Linked DNA regions of Homo sapiens: regions 1, 2, 3 and 5 are each linked to region 4. Evidence: promoter capture Hi-C in 16 types of primary human blood cells and fetal thymus (Javierre and others, 2016). All regions are on one chromosome and are shown on one strand. The core of a region is centred on a gene start or on the middle of the fragment in contact, and the rest is flanking DNA. Distances in the headings are between cores, read along the strand shown.

The links. Contacts are between HindIII fragments. The CHiCAGO score rates a contact against its expected background, and 5 or more counts as called.
Region 1: a contact is called between a fragment that was not itself captured here and the fragment with the promoter of ENC1 in region 4, in 1 of 17 cell types (endothelial precursors). The highest score is 6.5, in endothelial precursors.
Region 2: a fragment that was not itself captured here is called in contact with the fragment with the promoter of ENC1 in region 4 in 2 of 17 cell types (M0 macrophages and M2 macrophages); the score reaches 5.6 in M0 macrophages.
Region 3: a fragment that was not itself captured here is called in contact with the fragment with the promoter of ENC1 in region 4 in 4 of 17 cell types (M0 macrophages, M2 macrophages, M1 macrophages and 1 more); the score reaches 9.1 in M0 macrophages.
Region 5: a fragment that was not itself captured here is called in contact with the fragment with the promoter of ENC1 in region 4 in 1 of 17 cell types (endothelial precursors); the score reaches 6.2 in endothelial precursors.

Annotation. Positions count from the first base shown.
Region 1 is chr5:74,118,521-74,121,220 of GRCh38, reverse strand. No RefSeq gene overlaps it. Among named protein-coding and RNA genes, the nearest start is that of LINC02122, 17 kb to the right of the region's middle. The HindIII fragment of the contact is 4,647 bases long and covers 1-2,700 here.
Region 2 is chr5:74,016,411-74,019,248 of GRCh38, reverse strand. No RefSeq gene overlaps it. Among named protein-coding and RNA genes, the nearest start is that of LINC02122, 85 kb to the left of the region's middle. The HindIII fragment of the contact is 2,144 bases long and covers 343-2,486 here.
Region 3 is chr5:74,036,747-74,039,609 of GRCh38, reverse strand. All of the region lies in intron 2 of LINC02122 (long intergenic non-protein coding RNA 2122), which reads left to right. Among named protein-coding and RNA genes, the nearest start is that of LINC02122, 65 kb to the left of the region's middle. The HindIII fragment of the contact is 9,651 bases long and covers 1-2,863 here.
Region 4 is chr5:74,639,402-74,642,101 of GRCh38, reverse strand. It overlaps ENC1 (ectodermal-neural cortex 1), which reads left to right and starts at 1,374. Exons shown (of 3, transcript NM_003633.4): 1 at 1,374-1,795. It also overlaps a transcript of HEXB not described here. RefSeq lists enhancers at 1-388, 389-1,104, 1,566-1,925 and a silencer at 1,266-1,525. The HindIII fragment of the contact is 20,564 bases long and covers 1-2,700 here.
Region 5 is chr5:74,075,165-74,077,864 of GRCh38, reverse strand. All of the region lies in intron 2 of LINC02122 (long intergenic non-protein coding RNA 2122), which reads left to right. Among named protein-coding and RNA genes, the nearest start is that of LINC02122, 27 kb to the left of the region's middle. The HindIII fragment of the contact is 646 bases long and covers 999-1,644 here.

The sequences.
Region 1 (2,700 bases), core at 160-2,659, 520 kb after region 4:
TGATAACTTACTAGAATGTCTCACAGAACTAAAGGGTCGTACTTACCATTACAGTCTTATTAGAAAGGATACACACAGGGTAAATTCTGAGAGAAAGTATAGTCAGGACATATCACCCTCCAGGCACATGATGATACCCTAGCTATACCTATTTATGTTGGGCACATTAATGTGTGTTTACCAATTAGGAAGCTCCACTATGCATCGGTGTCCAGATTTCTTATTGGAGTTTCATTACTAGACATAATTGCTTAAGTCATTGGCCAAGTGATTTAACTCAATCTCTAGCTCCTCTCACCTTCCCTGGAGGTCAGGTGGTCTAAAGTTCCATTTCCGTAGCCATGCGGTTGGTCTCTCTGGTGACCAGATCTCTTATCCCAAAGCTATCTAGGGATCCATCAGTGTCACCTCATTAGCATAACAGATATCCTATCACTCAGGAAATTCCAAGGATTTGTGAAACTGCCAGGAACTGGGGACAAAGAAAAGAAATATTCCCCATTATACCACACCAGTTGTAGCCAGAGAAACAGCCACACCAACCGGAGATGACTGTGACCTTACACAACTAATTAGCAAGACTTTTCAAAAAAACTCCTTCCCTGCCCCCAAACTAGAACTAGAACCAGACAAGGGAGAAGAGGGTGGTCTGTAAATGGGTGCCTCTCCATTCTAAGGCTCTTAAAGCCACAGGTCTAGTCTGGACTGGAAGAGGGAATGAGCCCTGAATCAGAGACTGATATTATAAACTGAGCCCAAATACACTTTAATAATGGAAAAACCCAAAAATTGAGATTTTTTTCCCCCACCATATTATTAAGTGATGGGAAAATAGGATTTGACAGCGTGGTTGAGAGCAGGGGCTAGAAAGATAAAACGGTTTCACATTTAAAGCATACTGAGTTTAACACTCACTAATAGCTGTTTATAGCTGCTAGGATGGCTAATATAAAAAAGATGGAAAACATCAAGTGTTGACAAGGATGTGGAACTGCCAGAACTCTCATACACTTCTGCGGAGCGCAAATTGCTACAATCACTTTGAAAATAGTTTTGGCAGCATCTGTAAAAGCTGAAGATACGCATACCACATGACCCAGCCATTCCACCTGTATGGATGGACTTCAACAGATACTCACTCACATGTTTATCAGAAGACGTGTACTACAATACTCATAGCAACACTATCAATAACCCCCAGTTGAAGAGTATCCAAATGACCATCCAGTAGTAGAATGGATAAAGAATAAACTGTGGCATGTTCATAAATGGAATGCTACACAGCAATTAGAACAAATAATCCAAGGCTACATGCGACAATGTGAATGCATCCCACAAACTTAATATTGAGACAGAGAAATCTAGTAACCGAAGAGTACGTGCTAATAGGCAAAACATATCTATGTTGCTGGAGACAGGATAGTGACCTGAAAGGTGGGAGTTAGCAAAAAGGAAAGGAATAGGATAGAGGATTCTGGAGGGTTGGGTGCTGGATACAGGGGTGAGTTCCATCTGTGAAAGTGATTTTTACACTTTTCTGTACATAAACTATAATAAAAATTGTTTATAATAAATTGTTTTTAAAAGGAAAGAAAGTAAACGGGGAAGTTGCTGAGAAGACATTCTTTACTGGATCTGAAGCAAGAGATCTGTGGGTGTCTGCAGTAGCTCCACGGACTTGCTACTCCCTTCATTTCTTTCACATGTACTACACGGCCTTCCTCATAAAAGCCTTTTGAGTATCTGCATCTTTCTCCTTTCACTTCTCCCCAGCCTATTTCTTGAGCACTTGGTAGCCCCAATTTTGTAGGGGGTCTTAGTTGATTTCTCTTGGCTAATTGCCAATGTTTCTAGAAAGAGTTTCTTGTTGGTCGTTATGGATCAGGACACTGCTTATCAAAGGCAGGGGCTAAGGATGAGTCAGTTTCAGCTTAAAAGGGGATGTTGGGTATGGCAAGCCTTACAAAGCAGTCACTAGTGTGCCCAATACACTTGCCCACCTCACAGGGTGACATAAGTTTCTAAGAATATCATGGATGGAAATAAAAGTTAGCAGTTGTACTTTTCTATATTCACTGATGGAAAAATTAGACTTATGAAAAATTTCTATGTAGTCAGTGAATCCATATATATATATATATATATATATATATATATATATATATATATATATATATATATATATATATATATATATAAAATCTGTTGAGAGACCATCATTGGTCTGTTGTGTTCCTGAACATCTTGTAGGTAAAAGAATTGGCAACTTTTTTTAGGGACTATTTCAAGAGTGATGGTATAACAATCAAGCCCTGAAGATACAGTGTTCCCTCTGGAGCAAGGTGCAGATTTGTTTGTAGACCACTATGAGGACTCAAGTTTCCTTCCTTCAAGAGGAATCTTGACAATTCCTCTCCTGAAAAACAATTTACTGCATGTGCACGTGTCACCTGGCCCTCATTACCTCACCCCTGTGGGACTTAGGGCTTAGGGAACTGACGCAGGAAAATGATACTCAAGCTATAGCTATTTATAGAAGTAACAAAATGTCTTTTGTCTCTGAACCAGGAGTCTCATGTCCTCGGGCAGCATCCATGAAACTGTGGCAGGCTAAATTATCATTTTGCAAGTTGGGTAAAATCTCAGATCCTTTATCATTCTTGATATCATCATGCTTCCATGTGCATACATTGGAAAAAT
Region 2 (2,838 bases), core at 165-2,664, 620 kb after region 4:
TCCCTCCTCTATAAATAATCCCATTACTTTGACTTCTAATATAACGATGCTACTCAAACAGCCATAAAATAGCAGAACAGCATCACTGGAGTTTGCTAGAAATGTAAGATCATGGGCATGATCCCTGACCCAGTATCAGTGGGGATGGAGTCTAGGACTTGTGTTTTAACAAGTTTGCCAGATGATTCTGAGACAGGCTTGTTTAACTAACCATGACTGCATTCAAGCCTTTGCCCTAGAGCCACATTATGTGTTTGAATGTGTCTTCCCACCTAGACTGTGAACTTCCCGAGGGCAGGTCTAAGCCATATGGTTGTTTTTCATAGGCGCTTAATGCAAGCTTGTTGAGTAGTCACCAACAGTATCTTCATGTGGCCCTGGAGTACTGCTTAAGTATTGTGGGTTCTGCAGAGAATTTGCTACTCATCAATAAAAGAATCAACCCTCCAATTGCAGTTTATATATTTTATTTCTCTTTCTTTGTTAGATTCGATGTCAGTGGTGGGAAGAGAGGACAATATTTTATCTAATATAAATGTCCAGGAAGAGTGTCCTGACCAACCTTTGACTTCATCTTGGCTCCCTACTGAGTGCAGAGGAAGAAAGTTAATGTATCAGACATTTATTGCCTACCAGACACTATGCTGTTTTTGTTTAACCCTCCCAACAACCTACGATTACTTCCATTTTAAAGATGAGTAAACTGAGGCTCATAGAAGCTAGGAGCTTCCCTATGATGGTGCAGCCAGAAGTCTGAGACTATAGGTCCCACTTGGAACTATCACACTAAATCCCGTCTATGGTTTCCTGCCTACTAAGTACGTCTGGACTTTTCATGGAAGACTGCGGAGTCTCTGTGGTCTCCTGAGACCATGCAATTTCCCAGCCCAGTGGTTAAACCAGGTTTTACTGTGTCTCTATGATCCCTGGCTTTGCTTTTGGCCTTCTCAAGCACTAAAAACTCCCTGGCTACAACAGCATTTTCTTGCCAGTTTTCAGTAGACTCGAGTTCAAGGCAATTATCACCTGAGCAGAGCCTCCTGTCCTCAGACAGTAGTGAGAGGAGATGTTCCTAGAACCTATTAAAATCTGCCTGGAGCAGTCTGAGTCATGCGCCCTGTGAGTCAAGATGCCTCTGAATTGGAGTAGGCAGCAGGGCCGTTGGTTTTTATGGCAATGCACTCAGAACTCCTGGGGTTATGTTAATTGGCCTTTTAAGCCCTGGCAATCTCCAGTTTTGGCATGGGGATGGCTATTCACAATTGTGCCCCAGATAAAGAGTGATTGATTTTGGACAAAGCCTGTGGTCTGGAAGGCTCTCCTTGCTGGATCCCAAAGCACCAAGGGCACACCCCTGTCTAGAGCTCTGGCCCAGGTTTTACAGCCTTGGACTTGAGAGCTGAATAAAAAGAAAAGTCAGACTCACGGTTCTCCCATGGGCTTTTCTCAGGCACAGGTGTTCCAGGGCACCAGGGAATAGACACGTGTTTGGAACTGGGAGCTCAGAAAGCTGGCTTGGGCCCCAAACCTAGTCCCAAGTTACCTTTCTATTGTCTGGGGGAAGAGGAGAAGGCACTGAAGATGAGGAGGGGACAAGGGGATTACTCTACTTGGCAGTTACTCCCACACATAATCTAGAAAGAAAAGTTCCAGCTGGTGAGTGCTTTTACCACCATGCTTAAAGAGAAAGTTAACAGAAATATCAACTGTCTTCATTCATTCATTCACTCAGCAACCATCCTTTCAGCACCTACTGAGTATCAGGTGTTGTTCTGGGGGCTAAGTTACAAGGAAGACACCATGAACCCTGCCCTCAAGGAAATCCCAACCTAACAGGACACTTGTATTAGTGACTCCCTAGTCCTTTGGAGTCATCCCCTATCTGCAACTCAGTGACTCATAATCCCCAGAAGAAGTAGGAAGGAAACGTCTTTGCAGCCTCAGGCCCAAAGGCTCCTGGCTCCACTCCCACACCTGCAGGCTCAGGCACGGAACAACACCTGGCCCCCTCTGACTCCTCCCACAGGAGCCCCTCTGATGACCTCTCCAGGCAGACACAGCCTTACATGCCCAGGTACCTCAGCCCTTCCTGAAGCTACCCTCAGTCTTAGCCAAGATAATTCTTTGTTTCTCCCTAGCTCTGCTGAGCTCTTGCTCTAGCTCCATTAAAATCCCTCATTCTTTCTAGAAAGCTGAGGAGAAAACTATTACGTCCTTGACAAATGTGGTTCCCCATCCCAGATCCCAGTCTTAACCACAAGCCTAAGAGACTAGAAAATTCAAAAGTGATTAGGATCAGTCACATCCTTATTCTGAAACTCTCCCCTATAGACTTTAAGGACCAGAGAAACAAAAGAATCCCATTCACCTCCCCCTTACACTGTCATCTCCCATCTGCGGGAATATGAGAGTGAGAGAAGCAGAGAAAGAAAGGTGGTGGGCAGCCAGATTGAGGGAAAACGGTGGACTCCAGGCAGAAGAAAGCTTCCTGGCAAGTCCTCTGAGAGGACGCTCCTCTCTCTGCTTCTGGGGACTCCCTGTGTGAGGGAGACAGGTCAGTAGGGTGAGCAGGAGCAGGCAGAGGACCTGTTAAGTAGGAGCAGATGAGGATAAAATGGGAGTGTGAGGTGGGACGCCCCTACTGGCCTCCTCCAGGATTGCAGACACCTGCAGTCCTCAGTACCAGGGGCCAAGAGTGAGTCATCCTTTAGCCCCACCTCTCTGGGGTGCACAACACCGGCAGGTGCTGTTCCTCTTTTCCTTCAAGATTGGCAATGGGGGCCAGGCATGGTGGCTCATGCCTGTAATCCCAACAAGGATTGGGAGGCCGAGACAGGA
Region 3 (2,863 bases), core at 187-2,686, 600 kb after region 4:
GGAAATGAAAAAAAGTCCCAGCCATTACCAGGCTCCCAGATGAGTAGAGGGCACAAACTCCAAAACACATGAGACATACAGTGGAAGCCTGAACACAATCTTTTGTGAGTCCACATGATGGCATAATTTGGAGTTTCAGGATGGCAGAAGAGGAGGCCAGAATACACAAGCTATTGCCTTCATTGCAGGCATTTGACCATAGTAATGAGCAATACAGACTCTGGAGTGAGACTATGTGAGTTTGACTCCTGCCTTCATCATCTTCTAGTTCTCCCTAGGTAAGCTATGACATAGCCTCCCTGGGTCTCGATTTGCTCCTCTATGAGGTAGCACTCATATTAATGTAAACCAAAAGTACCTGAGACAGGTCTGAATCAGTTTAGAAAGTTGATTTTTGCCAAGGTTAAGGACACACTCATGACACATCCTCAGGAGATCCTGACATGTGCCCAAGGTGGTGGGGTACAGCTCAGCTTTATACATTTTAAGGAGATATGAGACATCAATCCATACATGTAAGATGTACATTGGTTCAGTCCAGAAAGGCAGCATGACTTGAAGTGGGAGCTTCCAGGTCATAGGTAGATTAGATTTTCCAATTGGCAATTGGTTGAAAGAGTTATTATCAATAGAAAGGAATGTCTGGGTACAATAAGAGGTCATAGAGACCAGGGTTTTGTCATACAGATGAAGCCTCCAGGTAGCAGACTTCAGAGAGAATAAATTGTAAATGTTTCTTATCAAACTTAGAGTCCGTTCTACCAGTAATTCCAAAAGGGAGGAGGGTATAATGAGGCATGTCCAGCTCCCCCTTCCCATCATAGCCTGAACTTGTTCTTCAGGTTAATTTTGGAATGTCCTTGGCCAGGAGGAAGGGTTCATTCAGATGGTTGAGGGGCCTTAGAATTTTAATTTTGGTTTACATTAGTCAGCTTGGGCTACCACAACAATATACCATAGACTGAGTGCCTTAAACAGTGAATAATTATATCTCACTGTTCTGGAGACTGGGAAGTCCAAAATCAAGGTGATAGCCAACTTGGTTCCCCGGTGAGAAATTCTTCTGACTTTCAGAAATTCTTCTGCCTTTTCCCTGTGTCCTCACATGGCAGTGACAGGAGAGGGAAGCAAGTTGTCTGGAGCCGCTTCTTAGGGGGGCCCTAATCCCATTATGAGGACCCCACCCTCATGGCTTTATCTAAACCCAGTTGCCTCCCCAAAGGCCCATCCACAAATACCACTACACTGGGGGTTAAGGCATCAACATATGATTTCTGCAGGGGTGGGGAGGCACAATTCAGTCCATAGCAGCAGGACAAATAGTGTTTTCCTCACAAGATTGTTGGGTCTTAAATGAGCCAGTATATATAGAGTGCCTAGAACAGTGGCTGCCACATATTAAATGCATTATTTGTAAGTGCTAGCTGTTATTATTAAAGCCACATAAGCTGAGTCAAAAACTGGGAAAGGTCAAGTGTGTCAAGGCCTCACTTGCTGGGATGTATTTCCTTGGGGTCATATTGCTTCTCAATGGAAGGGAGAAAAATGAGCTTATTCTTGAGAATTAAGAATGGGCCTATTTTCATGCAAATATTGGCTTGGAGAGCCCCTTTGCAATCAATTATTACTAAGGTGAAAATCCTGAACCTCTCTACTCTCTGTGCTTTCATACCTTCCCGCTGCATTCTCATCTTTCACTTGTGATCAAATGCCTAACAATCTCAGAAACATGTCCACTTAGGGGATTACTCTTGTTAAAGAGTATTTAGCTTTTAATCCCACAAGGCACAAGCAGTTTGAAATATAAGACATCATAGAAAAAGAAGTATTTAGCAGGGTTAATCTTGGAGGTGAGAGGTGAAAAGGGGCGAAATGGAATCCAAAGGAAACCCATCTCAATGAAAATATGAGTTTTAAGAGGGGCAAGCAATGGTTAATTTTTTCAGCCTATCAGTAGCTCTAGAATGGTGTACAAAAATGTTTTACTCAGCTCCCATACCTTCTTCATAGAGAATACATTGAACTTCAGCTTATTTTCTACTGGAGGCACGCTGCTGGATTAAGTTCTGCATTCAGGAGTTGTGGCATTCATGTCCTTGGTTAAGCAAACGGAGATTTCAAAATCCTTTAGGCTGGAAGAACTGGGTCCTTCATCCCTTTTTTAAATTCTTAAGTCTCATTCCTTGCTTGTTTCATTTAGGCTGCTGAATTCATTGGCAATTGTTGACAACTTGACTGTTTTGATTGTTTCCATCTTAGACATTTCCATTGCTGTTAGACTATAAAGTTGACAGCCCAAATCCTAAAATACCTGGTTGGCCCGTTCAATCTATTTCTTTCCTGCTTAGTCCTCCTTTAGAAGGAATGAAGCAAGATGTTGTAATTAGAATGGTGATGAAAAAGTGTGAACATACACTGTCAATAGGGGAGTGGAAGGCACAGGTACTCTCATGCATTTTTTAAAATAAGAGCTTTATCGAGATAGAATTCACATATCATAAATTCATCCGTTTAAAGTATAAAATTCAGTGGGGTTTAGCATATTTATAGATGTAGGAGCATCACCACTATCTGAATTCAGAACATTTTCGTCACACCGAAATGAAATCCTGCACCCAATACCACTTACTCTTTAGCTCCTTCCTTCCCCCAACCCCTGGTGACCATTAATCGATTTCTGTATGGATTTGCCTATGCTAGATATTTCATGATATAGGAATCATATATTCTGTGGTCTTTTGTGGCCTTCTTTCACTTAATATTCTCAAGGCCTCATATATTCTTGATAGAGTATGAATTGGCTCGATATTTGAAGGAAAATATGTCAATATCAATCAGAACTTAAAGTACATGTACTCAGAAA
Region 4 (2,700 bases), core at 125-2,624:
GTTTCAGCAGTCTGGACTCTGGAAGCGCCATGTGGGGCCTCCTTAGCCAGTTTAAATCGCTCCTGCGCCTAGTGTTTTAAAGCAAGCTGGGAGGCGAAGCGCGGGCGCTTGGGGACGCGGGGACCCGGGGACGGAATAAACTCTGTCGTGGGGCCCTCACTCTCGAGCTGCAGAGCTGGGACATTGTTGCTAAGTGACTACGAGCCAGGCAATTCACATCTCCCTGGGCCTCGGTTCCCCACCTGTAAAACAAGGGGGCTGGACCGGTCATCTATCCCGTTCATTTATAGACTTAGCTCCAAATACCGAATAAAAGACAGATATTTTAACTCCCAGTGGAAAGACAAGCCTCTAGTTGCAAAGATAAATGGGATTCGTAAAAGTGATCACCACGCGAGATTATTTTTCGAATCGCCTTCCCTTCTCCTGACACGCGGGACTATTAAACGTGTGTGTGTGCTGGGCCATTTCTTTACTGAACTCCAAACTAACACCACCGAGCGATAAAAAACAGGAGAAGGTGATGGAGGCTTAATCGCTAGGAGAGGAGGCGGCGTGGCTGCTGCTTTGAGGAGTTCACTTTGAATCAAGCGGCCGCGGCGATTGGCTGAAAAGCACGTGGTGCGCGCCCCGCAGGACTGCGCCCCGGCTGCCCCTGCAGTCGCCTGGCTTAGGGCAGAGTCCAGCCGGGGGTGCCGCACCCACTGGGGAGTGGGGAGGGAGGACACATAGGAAATGCCTGGGGCTGGAGTCTCTTTGGCTCTCTGCCAGCAAGAAACTTAAACGTCCTGGCTTGCTCAACCCGAGTGTCCCTAAACTGTCCAGACTTTTGCCCGTCCATTGCCACTATCTCTCCCCACTCTGGGTGTCCTACCCAAGGCGCTGTCTATGCGTGCCCAGGGCCTGTCCTGCGGATACCCAGCTCGCCCCTTGCAGCCCTTTTTAGAGCATCTCGCGGGCTCTGGCATCACCAAGCGCACAGCCCCGGGCTGCGCTCCCCTAAGGTGGGTCCCTCAGATCCGGGGCTGTCCATTAACCAGGCTGGCCCAAAGAGGCGCAGACACTCGAACCCGGGAAAACTTATTTTATTCTCGGTTCCCGGGGTTGCAGCTGCCAGCGGCTGAGACAGTGCGTCCGCTTTGTCTCTCTGCACTCCCCGCAGCCCCCCTCTCCCGCTTCCTCTCCCGATTAACTCCCCCGACACGCTCTTCTCTAGCTCCTCTCCTCCTCCCACTCCTTCTCCTCCTCTTCCTCCTCCTACACCACAGGCCGCGCTAATGCGCTTCCTCCCTCCCCCGGTGTCGGTCTCTTTGCATACGCGCCCCCTCCCCTCCCCGCCGCGCCACTTATAGCGGGGCGCACGGCGGCGGGGCGCAGACTGCTCTGGCAGCCGGAGAGGAGGCGGTGCGGCGGTGGCGCTGCGGAGACCCGGTCCAGACGCCTGGCGGCCGCCGGCACACAAGGCGCTTTCTAGCTCCCTCCCCCGAGCGCACAGCCCGCCTCCTTCCGCGGCGCCTGCAGTGGCAGGCTTGCTCTGCCCTACCGTGACGCGCTCCGGAGACGCTCTGCGGGTCCTGGACACCGGGTCCGCGGCGTGGGGACGACAGACGGAGGCGAACGCCATCGGTAGCCGGTCCGCGAGCCATCGTTCGGGGCGCAGTCCTCTCCCCGGCTGGCCCTCCTTTCTCCGGGGCATTCGCCACCGCTTCCCTGGGCTGAGACGACCGGTTCGTCGCCTCCTTGCCCGTGACCGTCGCTAGAACTCAGTTGTGCGTTGCGGCCAGTCGCCACTGCTGTAAGTTTCCCCCACTGCCCCGGACCTGTTGCAGGCGCTGCGGGCTTCAGGGGCTGCTTCGGCTGCAGGGGTGTGTTCGCGAGGGGTGAGCGTGCTCCGAGCACTCGGGAGCTTCGACTAGAGGGCAAGGGGAGCTCTTCTCGGTGCGGAGATCACGGTGCCCGCCGCTGCCCTCCCACAGCAGGCAGAAGCCGGGCATCGCCGGAGAGGTCGACCGGCCTCCCCTCCGCGGTGCAATGTCTGGGGCGAGCCGCTGGGGAAGCGAGGAGCCGAGCTAAGGATACAGTCAGCCTCTCTCCTCTGCGGAAAGCAGCGCTTTCCTGGGGGTGAATGTCGCGCTGCGTCGCTCCCCGCAGCCTCCAGGGCCGAGCGCGCGGGATGGTTGGCCCACGTTGCATCCTCCCCGGCTTGGAGGAAAGTTGGGGCCATGCACAGACACCCTGAGTGCGGGCATGTTCACTGCGGCGGAAATGTCTATAGAGAATGAATGAAAACTGCTTTCTGAAAAACTAGTTTCTTGATCTGTCGTGTTAACATTATTAGTTACAAAGGATAGGAATTGGTGGGCCTGGAGATGAAACACTGAATTTATCCACATGCGGTTTGGTGTCACACAGGCATGGCCAGCTTGTTAAATAGCGTTGCAAGTGTTAATAAAAAGACTCTGGCAAGAAGCTACTTTTGTTAACAAGATCTTTATAATGTTCTATTGTTACCGGTAATGTAAATGCCCAGAAAAAAATCTGCTTAGTTTCTCTTTTGATTGGATTGAGATCAGGTTCAAAACCTGGAGAAGGGTGCGGGACGCTAAGCATTGGAGGCAGAGAGCCTGAGTTAGGAGCATGAAGTGAACTGAAGTTACTGTAACTGAAGCCCTTTTGATGTTCACAGTAATAGCAGCCCTT
Region 5 (2,700 bases), core at 72-2,571, 560 kb after region 4:
GACAGAAATTTAAGATTTGAATTAAAGGACCACTACTGTCTTCTACATCCCATTTCTGGGATTTTCTAAGGGAAGTGGGGAGGAGAAGGGATTACATCAGGGGTATCCAATCTCTTGCCTTTCCTGAGCCATATTGAAAGAATTGTCTTGGGCCACACATAAAATACACTAATAATAGCTAATGAGCTAAAAAACAAAAGCAAACAAAAAAAACTCCTAATGTTTTAAGAAAGTTTATGAATTTGTGTTGGGCCACATTCAAAGCTGTCCTGGGCCATGGGCCATATGTTGGACAAGCTTGTATTACATACTTCAGCAAACAAAAACATCTATAGAGATAAAAAGAACTATGACTTGGAATTGTCTAGGAAATTTCAGGATATATTTTAACAGGGATTCCCTGGGGGAAGGAGAGGGACAAGCCTAAGCAAAAGTTGAGTGCTTTGTAGGAAGTATTATCACAGGAAAGCAAGAGTAAGAGTGTGTTAGTCTTTTTTCACACTGCTATAAAGAACTGCCTGAGACTGGGTAATTGACAAAGAAAAGAGGTTTAATTGACTCAAAAGAGATTTAACTGACTCACAGTTCTGTGTGGCTGGGGAGGCCTCAGGAAACTTACAATCATGGTGGAAGAGGAAGCAGGGCTGTCTTACGTGGCAACAGGAGAGAGAGTGAGCAAAGGGAGAAGAGCCCCTTATAAAACCATCAGCTGTTATGAGAACTCACTCCCTATCACAAGAACAGCATGGGGGAAACTGCTCCTATGATCCAACCACCTCCCACCAGGTCCCTCCCTCAATACCTGGGGATTACAATTCAAGAAAAGATTTGGGTGGGGACACAAAGTGTGACCATATCAGAGAGGAAGGGAAGTAAAGAATGGAAACAAGAAGCCAATGCAAGGATGTGTGAGTGATGGCTTTGGCCACTGTGTCACAATAAGGCACAAAGTGACAAAGCCAGTTGTTTGATAGGTGCAGGATGTCTCTGGACAAGCTTGTATGGAAAACCATACCTCAGAACAATGCATCAGAGGGACAAATGGAGAGAAAGCCTGCCGATTCCCTCTTGTCTCCTCATTCCCATTTACCAAAATGAACCCCATGGAAGTTAATCCTCTTGTAGTTCTGGGTTGGTCACCTGGCCCCTTTTGGCAGCAGACCTCTGGGGGAAGCAGACCCTGTACCATAAGAAGTGGCCTTTTATGAGATCAGAAGTGAGGGAAGAGCTGAAGACAACACAGGGGGAACCATGAGGTTCTACATAGAATCCTTCCTCTCAGCTGCTGGCCCAGGGGACAGGTGAAGCCAGGAGAATCTGAGGCAGCCCATAGGATGCATCCTACATGTGATAGATTATTACCACAAGTATATCTCATGATAATTGTGGTCAATCCTTTCTTCTCAAGAAATTTCCAGACCCATTGTTTCTTTGATTTCTCCATTCTGTGTCCTTATTGTGCCTAATTCTTAAGCTGTTCTAACAAAGGCAACAAGAGGCAAGAAAGAGAAAACTCATGTTGGTGAATGCTGTCACTTAGAAGTTCACTGGCAAAACTGGTTAAGCAAGATAAAAGTGAATAAGGACAGTTGGCATTAAATGGAAGGTTGGGGGAGAAGTAAGTTCCTGATGTTTGCTTAAGCTTGGTTTTCAGAAAAATCTTTTTTTCTTTTAATGCAGGAGGTGGGGGGATTGTGCTGAGTGTGTCCATTTCCCTGAAACTTGATCCTCTCTCAGAAGGGCAGGAAGAGGGGGCAAGATTGACTAAGAAGAAACACATCAGCAGTGTGAAATACAAATGTTAAATCTATGTCATGGGGAAATCGTGCACGAGGCAGCCCTAAGATGTCTAGGGCTGAAATAACAACTATTTCTATCACAGCCTGATCTGACAAATTTATAAATCTTAAAACAACTTTAGGAGCAACACTTTGAAACAAAAGAGATGAAAACAAAACAAAACAATGCTTTGAGTTTATATACATAAATGGTCTAGGTAATAACTGGCCCCGAAAAGCGATCACAAGCCTTCCCTGGAAGTATTGCTCTTAAACTTGGAAATTATGCTATTATCAGCAGTTGACTGGAAGCTTCAGGTCCATCTGAACTGTGACTCTGCTGGTCGGCTCCTAATTAACCTCTGTCCTGCTGACTGTATAATTCAGCAGGGGCCTGCAGATGCTCCGCTTTTAAGTTAACTGAGGCCGTCTGCTCATTCAAGCTAATCCTGATAGTGCCTTAACAAGAAGGAAAAGGAAAAGATTAGATGTACCTGAAGCTACAAATGAGAAAGCTGTGTGGGTGGAAGAAGAGGAACCATTATTTTCCCCTTTTGTCTGTTTGAGGCCCCTATTTTTTAAGCTGTCCAGTGTAACTAATTAGGAGAAAGAATTCTGAATACTCCTTCTTATGCTCGTAGTCAAACAACCAATTTGATTAATTTTTTTATCTAAACAGATTTGGTATGTAAAATTCTTACTTGACATTTATACCTTTTTTCAAAATCCAATCATTTTCATACCACCTTTACACTTCTTGATATGTCTCTGGATCACTTTTAAATGGACTTACTTTGAAGAAAGAAAATAGCTACTTTAGCCTTGTTGCAGCAACAGTATTGTGGAATTACAATTTTAATGGGCTTTGTATGTGTGTGTATGAGTTTGTGCATGTCATCTTTCAAATTTGCAATCTCTACTC